Linked DNA regions of Homo sapiens: region 2 is linked to region 1. The links are contacts of gene promoters, found by promoter capture Hi-C in blood cells and fetal thymus (Javierre and others, 2016). All regions are on one chromosome and are shown on one strand. The core of a region is centred on a gene start or on the middle of the fragment in contact, and the rest is flanking DNA. Distances in the headings are between cores, read along the strand shown.

What was found. The method cuts DNA at HindIII sites, captures the fragments that hold promoters and counts their contacts. A CHiCAGO score of 5 or more calls a contact.
Region 2: the fragment with the promoter of CELSR2 here is called in contact with the fragment with the promoter of AMIGO1 in region 1 in 1 of 17 cell types (erythroblasts); the score reaches 5.3 in erythroblasts.

Annotation. Positions count from the first base shown.
Region 1 is chr1:109,507,044-109,511,794 of GRCh38, reverse strand. It overlaps AMIGO1 (adhesion molecule with Ig like domain 1), which reads left to right and starts at 2,068. Exons shown (of 2, transcript NM_020703.4): 1 at 2,068-2,375; 2 at 2,796-4,751. The coding sequence starts at 2,883. The coding sequence ends at 4,364. LOC105378893 (a long non-coding RNA gene) reads left to right here. Exons shown (of 3, transcript XR_001738179.2): 3 at 1,154-1,193. RefSeq lists silencers at 2,065-2,184, 2,245-2,394, 2,405-2,464. The HindIII fragment of the contact is 14,739 bases long and covers 1-4,751 here.
Region 2 is chr1:109,246,902-109,251,652 of GRCh38, reverse strand. CELSR2 (cadherin EGF LAG seven-pass G-type receptor 2) reads right to left here and starts at 2,114. Exons shown (of 34, transcript NM_001408.3): 1 at 1-2,114. The coding sequence starts at 1,573. RefSeq lists silencers at 467-657, 1,756-1,855, 2,016-2,075 and an enhancer at 2,077-2,797. The HindIII fragment of the contact is 8,037 bases long and covers 1-4,043 here.

The DNA.
Region 1 (4,751 bases), core at 819-3,318:
TATCCATCACTTCAAAGAGCCAGATCACTGTGACTTCTGTCTTGCTGTCTCTTGCATCTCTTGCTCTGAGGGAAGTCAGCTACCGTGTTGTGAGGAAACTCAAGCTGTCTTGTGGAGAGACCTTTATGGATAAGAATAGAGGTTTCCTGCCAACAGCCAGCCACATGAATTTAAGTGAGCCTCTATGGCCCCAGTGAAGCCTTCTAATGACTGTAGCTCCATCTAACGCATAACTGCATGAGAAACTGCCAAGCCAGAACTGTCCACCAGACTGCTCTTGAATCTGACCAACAGACACTGTGAAAGGCAATAAATGTATATTGCTGTAGGAAGTCACTAAGTTTTGGGGTAATGTGATTATGCAGCAATAGATAACTGATGCAATGTGATTTCAAGATTCTTCACACCTTGTCCTCCAAAAAGATTACCCTCCTCATCTTTTCAATGATGCCTGAAATGAACAGAACAGAACATCTTTCTCTTTTTTCTTTCTTTCTTTCTTTCTTTCTTTCTTTCTTTCTTTCTTTCTTTCTTTCTTTTTTTTTTTTTTTTTTGAGACAGGATCTTGCTCTGTCACCCAGGCTGGAATGCAGTGACACAAACATGGCTCACTGCAGCCTTGACCTCCAGGGCTCAAGTGATCCTCCGACCTCAGCCTCTCAAGTAGTGGGCACCACAGGTGCGTGCCACCATGCCTTTTTTTTTTTTAAGAGACAGAGTCTCACCATGTTGCCCAGGCTGCTCTCGAACTCCTGGGTTCAAGCAATCCTCCTGCCGCAGCCTCCCAAAGTGCTGGGATTACAGGTGTGAGCCACTGCACCTTGCAGAAAGACCTTTTCACACTATGCATAAGATTAACACGCTAATACTCCTTGAAGAGATAATATATTCACTAAAATTCATGGTAAAACATGTGACAGATATAAATTCTTTTTAAAACTCTTAGCAAGCTAATCTACTGAGACATTAATTTCAGTCTTGATCTTGCTGTTATAAGAGACTGGAACAAATAAAAAGGTAATTTCTTATGGTCCACCATCTCAAGAACAGCTAACATCTTGAATGATAAGGTCTAGGCTCTTCCTGCATCTCTCTCTTTCCTCACCCCCAAACCCAAACAACATACACTAGTAACAGCTTCTTGTTGTTTCAGGGGCCACCCTAAAGAAGAAACCCCTCCACCTCCACCACTGGCCTTCATCTTGAGGATTAGGTAACAGAGAAACTATGTTGCAATTGCTCCATAAGGGGAGTGGGGAGCTGGCACTGGTTTAGGAAGAAGGCAAGTGGCCAGACCTAAGGGCTGAATGACTTCCTCCGGGCTGGGAAGGGTTTCGGAGTTTCCAGGAATGGAAATTGTCCCTGGCTTGTATGCAGTCCGTGTGTGTGTGTGTGTGTGTGTGTGTGTGTGTGTGTGTGTGTGTAGCAGGTGGAGTGGGGAGAGGTGCATGAGGTGTCTGTAAAGGGGTGTTCTGGGGCCTGGGCTCACCAAACACCCCCTTTCCCCTCACTCCTGCGCAGCTGGCTTGCAGGCTAAGGAGCTGTGCCCTTCAGTGGTACCTCAAGGGTCATGAACTAGTAGCATCAAGACGGGGGTGGGGTGGGGGGAACCCCTCCCCCAATTTTTGAGACCCCACAGCCACAGAGAGAAGGGAGGGGGAACCTCAGAATGTGACTAATGAATTTCCCGCCAACATTGGCAGGCGGGAGCTGAGCCAGATTTCTTCAATTTGCGAAATTAAAAGACATGTGACGCCTCTTGCCCGAGTAGGTGCAGCGAATTCACTTTAGTTAGACTTTTCCTGAGAGCCGGTCTGTGTAGCGAGAAGGGTGCTGGGAGATGGGGGAATGGGGGATGGAGGAAGTTATAGCGGAGCCTAAGGGGCCAGTGCCGCTCTTCCTGCCAATTTTCGTCTTTAGCTCAGCGTCCGGAGCTCGCTGGTTGAGGGAACGACCCCGCGCGCGTCCGCCCGGCCGGCTCCGACACAAACACACGCACGTGCGCCCCGCCCCCGCCGCGCGCACGCGCCCCGAGGCTCCGGCGGCGGCGACGGGCGCGCGCGCGGTGCTCGCTGCCCCCACGCCGCTCCCTCCGCTGGGATCGCTGCGCCTCCGGCTCCCCGCACCGATCCGCGCCAGGCCTGCGGACCTGGAGGCAGCGACCGCGGTCGGTGGGCTCCGGCGGGCTCAGCGGTCGAGGCGGTGGCAGGGTGAGCGGAGCGGGGCCCCGCAAGTCCCCGGGAGGCGACGGTGCCGGGCGCGGGCCCCTGCGTAAGGTGGGCGCAGTGACAGGCCGGCCGGTGAGGCGCCGCCGGGAGAGGCCGCGACGGAGCTCCCAGACCGGCCATGGGCTGAGACACGTCCTCGCCGAGCAGGTGCAGTGACCGGAGGCCCCGGGGGGAGCCCGCCCCTACAGGCCCCGGGGACCCTCAACCCCGACCGGACGCGTCCTACCCAGCCCGGTGCCCTGTTGACCTTCCCTCAGCTCCTCCCAAAAGGCACACCGACCCCACCTCCAAACCCTGCCCGTGCCATCCCTGTGACTCCCAGCAGTCCCTGCCATCCTGTGCATACCTGCAGCCTGCACCCCTGTGACCCCAGCCCAGTAGGCCCTCGGGCCACCTCCTCTTCGGCCGATATTTACAGCCCACTGCCTGCACAGTGCCTGGAAACTACCCAGCATCTCTCTCTCCTAGCCCAAAGGGGGTGGAGGTAAGGGTGGGAGGGGAAGTGGGAGAGGGTGTCCTTCCCTCTGGAGTCCTTGGTGACCACAAACCCATCCTCTTTCTCTCAAGTGACCCTTCCGTACCCCACCAGAACATGCCCGGGTGACCTCCTCCCAGATCTTCCTTGTGGCCTTCCTCGCCCACTCCAGTGACACTATGCACCCCCACCGTGACCCGAGAGGCCTCTGGCTCCTGCTGCCGTCCTTGTCCCTGCTGCTTTTTGAGGTGGCCAGAGCTGGCCGAGCCGTGGTTAGCTGTCCTGCCGCCTGCTTGTGCGCCAGCAACATCCTCAGCTGCTCCAAGCAGCAGCTGCCCAATGTGCCCCATTCCTTGCCCAGTTACACAGCACTACTGGACCTCAGTCACAACAACCTGAGCCGCCTGCGGGCCGAGTGGACCCCCACGCGCCTGACCCAACTGCACTCCCTGCTGCTGAGCCACAACCACCTGAACTTCATCTCCTCTGAGGCCTTTTCCCCGGTACCCAACCTGCGCTACCTGGACCTCTCCTCCAACCAGCTGCGTACACTGGATGAGTTCCTGTTCAGTGACCTGCAAGTACTGGAGGTGCTGCTGCTCTACAATAACCACATCATGGCGGTGGACCGGTGCGCCTTCGATGACATGGCCCAGCTGCAGAAACTCTACTTGAGCCAGAACCAGATCTCTCGCTTCCCTCTGGAACTGGTCAAGGAAGGAGCCAAGCTACCCAAACTAACGCTCCTGGATCTCTCTTCTAACAAGCTGAAGAACTTGCCATTGCCTGACCTGCAGAAGCTGCCGGCCTGGATCAAGAATGGGCTGTACCTACATAACAACCCCCTGAACTGCGACTGTGAGCTCTACCAGCTGTTTTCACACTGGCAGTATCGGCAGCTGAGCTCCGTGATGGACTTTCAAGAGGATCTGTACTGCATGAACTCCAAGAAGCTGCACAATGTCTTCAACCTGAGTTTCCTCAACTGTGGCGAGTACAAGGAGCGTGCCTGGGAGGCCCACCTGGGTGACACCTTGATCATCAAGTGTGACACCAAGCAGCAAGGGATGACCAAGGTGTGGGTGACACCAAGTAATGAACGGGTGCTAGATGAGGTGACCAATGGCACAGTGAGTGTGTCTAAGGATGGCAGTCTTCTTTTCCAGCAGGTGCAGGTCGAGGACGGTGGTGTGTATACCTGCTATGCCATGGGAGAGACTTTCAATGAGACACTGTCTGTGGAATTGAAAGTGCACAATTTCACCTTGCACGGACACCATGACACCCTCAACACAGCCTATACCACCCTAGTGGGCTGTATCCTTAGTGTGGTCCTGGTCCTCATATACCTATACCTCACCCCTTGCCGCTGCTGGTGCCGGGGTGTAGAGAAGCCTTCCAGCCATCAAGGAGACAGCCTCAGCTCTTCCATGCTTAGTACCACACCCAACCATGATCCTATGGCTGGTGGGGACAAAGATGATGGTTTTGACCGGCGGGTGGCTTTCCTGGAACCTGCTGGACCTGGGCAGGGTCAAAACGGCAAGCTCAAGCCAGGCAACACCCTGCCAGTGCCTGAGGCCACAGGCAAGGGCCAACGGAGGATGTCGGATCCAGAATCAGTCAGCTCGGTCTTCTCTGATACGCCCATTGTGGTGTGAGCAGGATGGGTTGGTGGGGAGATTCTGCCCCAGGAGAGGTAATGCACCCCTGAAGGATATGAGGGGATGGAAGAGAGGGCTGGCTGCCCAAGGGAATGGATTCCTCCTGACCTCAAGGGAATTGGTCCCAGGTACAACAGAGAGCAAGACCCCAAACAGGGCGTGGCTGCCACGATTTTCAAATGGGGGTATATTAATCCTCAGGCAAATGCTACACCCGTACCCAAAGCCCTGCCAATTCTCAGTGTGGTAGAGGAAGAGAAGCATGTCTGAGTTGGATGGGAATGAGGAAGGAGTGAGGGGAAGAACAGATTCCCTAAACTTTCATGAGGTCATCCCTAGCTCCTTAAGAGAAAAACATTTAGAAAAAAAAATTTTTTCTATCTC
Region 2 (4,751 bases), core at 865-3,364, 260 kb after region 1:
GAACCAGGTAGCCTAAGGGGACACTCTCCAGGACAGTAGCCTGGAAAGGGGTGCTGACGAAGATGGGGGCATTGTCGTTGATATCCAGGACCTGTACTGTCACCAAGCCAGAGACATTAGAGAGTGGGGGACGGCCACCATCCTGTGCTCGCACCCGTAGGGTGTACTCCTTGGTCGTCTCATAGTCAAGAGGGCTCACCACATCCAGAGCTCCAGTCTGGGCATCCAGATAAAACTGTCCCCGAGCATTGCCACTCATGATGCTATAGTGCACCACGGCATTGCTCCCCTTGTCTCGATCCGAGGCTGTGACTCGGAGTACTGGGGCCCCTGGAGTCACATCCTCCCTCACCTGGACCACATAGCGCTTCTCACTAAACTGGGGGGCATTATCATTGTCATCCTCCACAGAAAGGAAAACAGCGGCTGTGGTACTCCGAGGACCCGGGTCCCGACCCTGGTCACTTGCCTCTACCGTCAGCTGGTAGGATTCCACCTCTTCCCGATCCACAGGGCCACGGGTTCGGATCACCCCAGAGCGAGGGTCGATCTCAAAGACTTCAGAGGGGCTGCCCCCAGACCCCTCCAGCAGGCGGTACAGAATATTGGCATTGGGAGGGGCATCACCATCCGTGGCCCTGACAGTGAGCACCTCATAGCCAACCTCCAGGTTCTCCCTGAGGCTCTCCTTGTACTCCTGCTGCTCGAACACAGGGTCATGGTCATTGGTGTCAGTAACCAAGATGGTGAGTGTAGCCAGGGCACTTCGTCGGGGCATGCCGTGGTCCTGCGCCGTGACCCTGAAGACGTGGGTGCTCTTGGTCTCACGATCCAGCTCCTCGGCTGTGGTTACTGCACCAGTGACTGGGTCCAGGGAGAAGAACTGGTTGGAGCGGCTATCAAAGAGGGCATCCATGGTGTACTCCAGTCGACCTGCCTCACCCTCGTCCGGGTCGATGGCCCTCAGGGATGCAACAGGGGTGCCTGCTGGCTGGTTCTCCGGCACTGTGGCCTGGTAGCTGGGGGGCTGGAACTGGGGGGCTGTATTTACATTCCTTTTCCGACGCCCACCCAGGGACTCTTCTGGTGACCTTTCCCCTGCCCTGAGCCCGGGGGCCTGTGCCAGCTTGCAGGACTGGCATCTGAGCCGTGGAGCCTTTAAGCACGGGTGCTCCTCGGGCAGTGTGAGCTTGCCCTGTGGGGAAAGGTGGCCTCCAATGCCCAGGAGGCGACAGCTCCAGGGGCAGCCTTCAGGAGCTGGTGGTAGGGGAATATGGGCCTCGGATTCTGGACACCAAACCCTCAGGCCATCGTGGTGGGGTACCAGGTGGCCAGTCAGCTCAGTGCCCGCATCCCTGCAGCGGCTGGTGTAGAGCCAGAGGTTCGACGCTGAGGATGGACAGAGCCAGCCCATGGGGGCGCAGGCCCCCGAAGAGCCTCGTCCCCTGGACCCCAAGGAACGACAGGGCCCCACTTGGTCTCCCAATAGTGGCGGCGGCAGCAGCAGCAGCAACAGCAGCAGCAGCGGCGGCGGCGGCGTTGGGAGGGGGACGCCGGTGGCCGGGCTCCGCATCTCTCCCAGCTCCCGGCCGGCGGCCGGGTCAACGGCGGCGGCGGCTCCTCCTCCGGCTCCTGCCGGCCCCGCCGCGCCTCATGCCCGGGCCAGGGCGCCAGTCCCCGGGGGCCTCCCGTGCGCCCCGCGGGGCCTGCGTCTGGATGGCTCGGCGGGACCCCGCGCTGCACCCTCCGACGAGCCCGGGCTCCCACTGCCCCCTGAGCCAGACCCGCTCCCGGGTCACCCTGAGCACCGCGGGCTGCCGCCGCGCCTCCACCTGCGCTCCGGGCACTCACCACCTGCGCCCGGGGGCCCCGCGGCGCCCCTGGCCTTGCCGGGCCCCGGGTTCCGGAGCCGGGGTGCCCCCTCCGCCCCTATGGGATCGCCCACCTGCGCCCGCGTAGCCGTGCGCCCCGACCCCGGCCCGGCCCCGGCGGCCCCCGACGGTCCCGCGCCGCCCGCTCGCGCCCCGCGTCCCCGCCGCGGCTGCTGCCTGTCGCCGCGGCCCCGGGCCCAGCCCCGCGCTCCCTCGCCTCCCCGGCGGGCGGGCGAGCTCTGCAGAGTCGCGGCGGCGGCTCATTACCATAGACCTGCTCGCGCCGCGGCCGCCTTAAAGCGGCAACGCCGGCCGCGCTGGAGGAGGTGGGCCCCACCCAGAGCACTCCTCCGCCCAAAGCGCCAGGATTCCCTCCAGCAGGACCCTCCATCCCAATTTCCCCAGGCCGGCCTCGCCAGATGCCCGGTGCGAATTAGCGATCGGAAGCCACACAGCCGATGATAATCATGGTGGAAGTACCCTAAGTATGCCTAGAGGTTTCCAAAACATTTTAAGGGCTCTCAGAGGCCAAGTTTCCAGTTCATTCCAGTCATAAAAGCCCTCGTTGCTGTCCCCTCCCATAGGTCAGACAGAGTTAAAAGGGCCCTGAGCAACACAACAAAGCCTCCAAAATCCCAGAGAAGCACCCACAATGAGTCACCGGGCCCACTCGCTCCCTACCGTCCCCTCCACCCCACCAGCGAGGCTGTTGTCTGACCAGCATGCCCCTTGGGGTCGGGCTGTTGGAAGAATGACCCCAGCCTCATGTTGGACACCACTTGGGCTTTTCCAGGGAAGTAAATTAGAAGGGTCAGAGTGGGTGGAAGCCAGGTGGTGCAAACACACTGTCACCAGATTCGGAGGCCGGCTGCGGTGGAGCCTAGCTTTAACACAGGCTTCCTGGATTCTAGACAAGGGGCTTACACTGCCCCCTGAGGTCCTGTCTAGAGAGGCGGCCTCTCATCCCCTCCTGCCTCCCTGTCCATGTCCTGCGGCTACCCCCTCCTTCCGCCACAGTTTTGTGACCAGCGAGGAGGCCTACCTGGTACCCGGGCTCCTGACCCTCTCCAAGGCAGCTTCATTTGAGAGGGTGTGCAGGATTCCAGGGGTTCTCCAAGAGGACCAGACATGAAGCTGGACCACACGGAGAGCCAGGCAGGAGCCGTGCAGGCGACCCAGAAAAGGCTTCCCTACATCCTGGAGCAGCCAGGGGCCCAGTCAGGTAGTCCCTGGGGGGATGCCCTGGCCTGGGGGGATGCCTGGGCCTGGGTCCCAGCCTCCAACACCACAGCTATGTGACCTTGCTCAAATTCTGTGCCTCAATGTCCCTTTTTGTAAAATGAGGGGATTGAATAAGGTGAATGGTTCTCAAATGTTTATTTAGCAGTAGAATTCTTTTCTTCAAAAGAAATCTGAAGTGGAAGGCCAGAATATAGAACAGATGAGTAGTGCTGCTGGGTTGAAGTGAGGGGGTCAGGGCCTTGCCCCTCTCCACCACTCCCCCAACCAAGAAATCCCTGGGCTGCTCTGTGCAACTTGAGGGTCTGGAGGAACCCATCTGAAAAGCACTGGATCAGGTGCTCCCTTCTACCACTGCCCCCGGTCACAGTGGTGCCACTCTCACTGGGTCACAGCAGAGGATCCCCCAGCCCCAGGCCCAAGGAGTGTCTGTGTGACCACACAGTGAGGCCAAGGATGAGAAATCAGCTTTTCTCTTTTCCCCTGGGGAAACAGGAAAGGAGATGGGCCTTGGGTACAGCAAGAAAGATTAGGGTTAGACTGTGCTCCTGGCAGGATGGATAGAAGTAGGAGGAGGACCCATGGCTCAAGGAAATGCCCTCCCCTTTGACCAAACAGGAGCTTTCTTCCTCTGAGCAAGGCCAAGGGCAGCTCTGGAGATGGAGGCGTGGGTTACACGCCTCCGCAGGGCTCTGCCTCTCTAGACTTCCTCAGACTCTGGAGTTTGGAAGGATCTAGGGGCTGCGTGGGCATTTTGTTCTTCACCTAATAGCCATGTGGTGCAGAGAATGCTTGGAAATTATACCATCTGTTAATTATCCTTTGAATTGGGGTTGGGTAATGAGACTCTCATTTCTGGTGAAGGCCCAAGCCAACCCGTGGAGAAGCTGCAACTCTCCATTCATCTCGCTCCCTTTGTTGCTAAAATAAGCTTTCTGGGTGGGAGGAAAGAGTAGCCCTGGCTCTGGATCACGGAAGGTGGTTCTGGGGCCTTGCACCTTGAGGCAGGGGTTGCCAGGGAAGGCATGAGCTCAGAAGCCCCTTCCAGGTGGGTGGCCTTTCCACCCAAAGGCAGATAGGTTGGGGGATCCAAGGAACCCTTTCCTTCATCCCCAAGCACATTTGGCAAATAGTCCTTAATCCTCCCCAGTCCTCCCTCCGGGGGCACAGGACAGAGCTCTCTCCCCATCACTTCCTCAGATACTTCCAACTCCCAAAAGCAGGAGGGAAATTTCCAAGTTTCATATGCATCACTGAGAGTCTCAAATGAGGGAGGGGTTGCCCTGGTGGAGGCCTCCCTGATCCCCAGGGAAGGGCTGCCTGCTTCATGGAGCTTTCCAGTTGTAAGGAACCTATGGACCTCCCTCCTGTGTGTAAGGGACATTTAGGCCTCCCTTCTGCATAGCTTTTAGGTGCTATCAAGGGGCAGCAAGGGCTTGGGGTCTGTTAAAAGAGAATTTATTGTTCTTCTAGTCCAAACCTCCCACTTCACAGTGGAGGCTCTGGGAAGGAAGGAAACCTGCTTGGCTAGCCTTGCGGCTGTCCTTTAGCTCTGGTGGGATTTCCTTACTCAGGTTGCTTCCTGAGGACCCCCTGGATAAGGCATGGCCCTGGCTTTCAACACAACAGGGTCGCATGGGT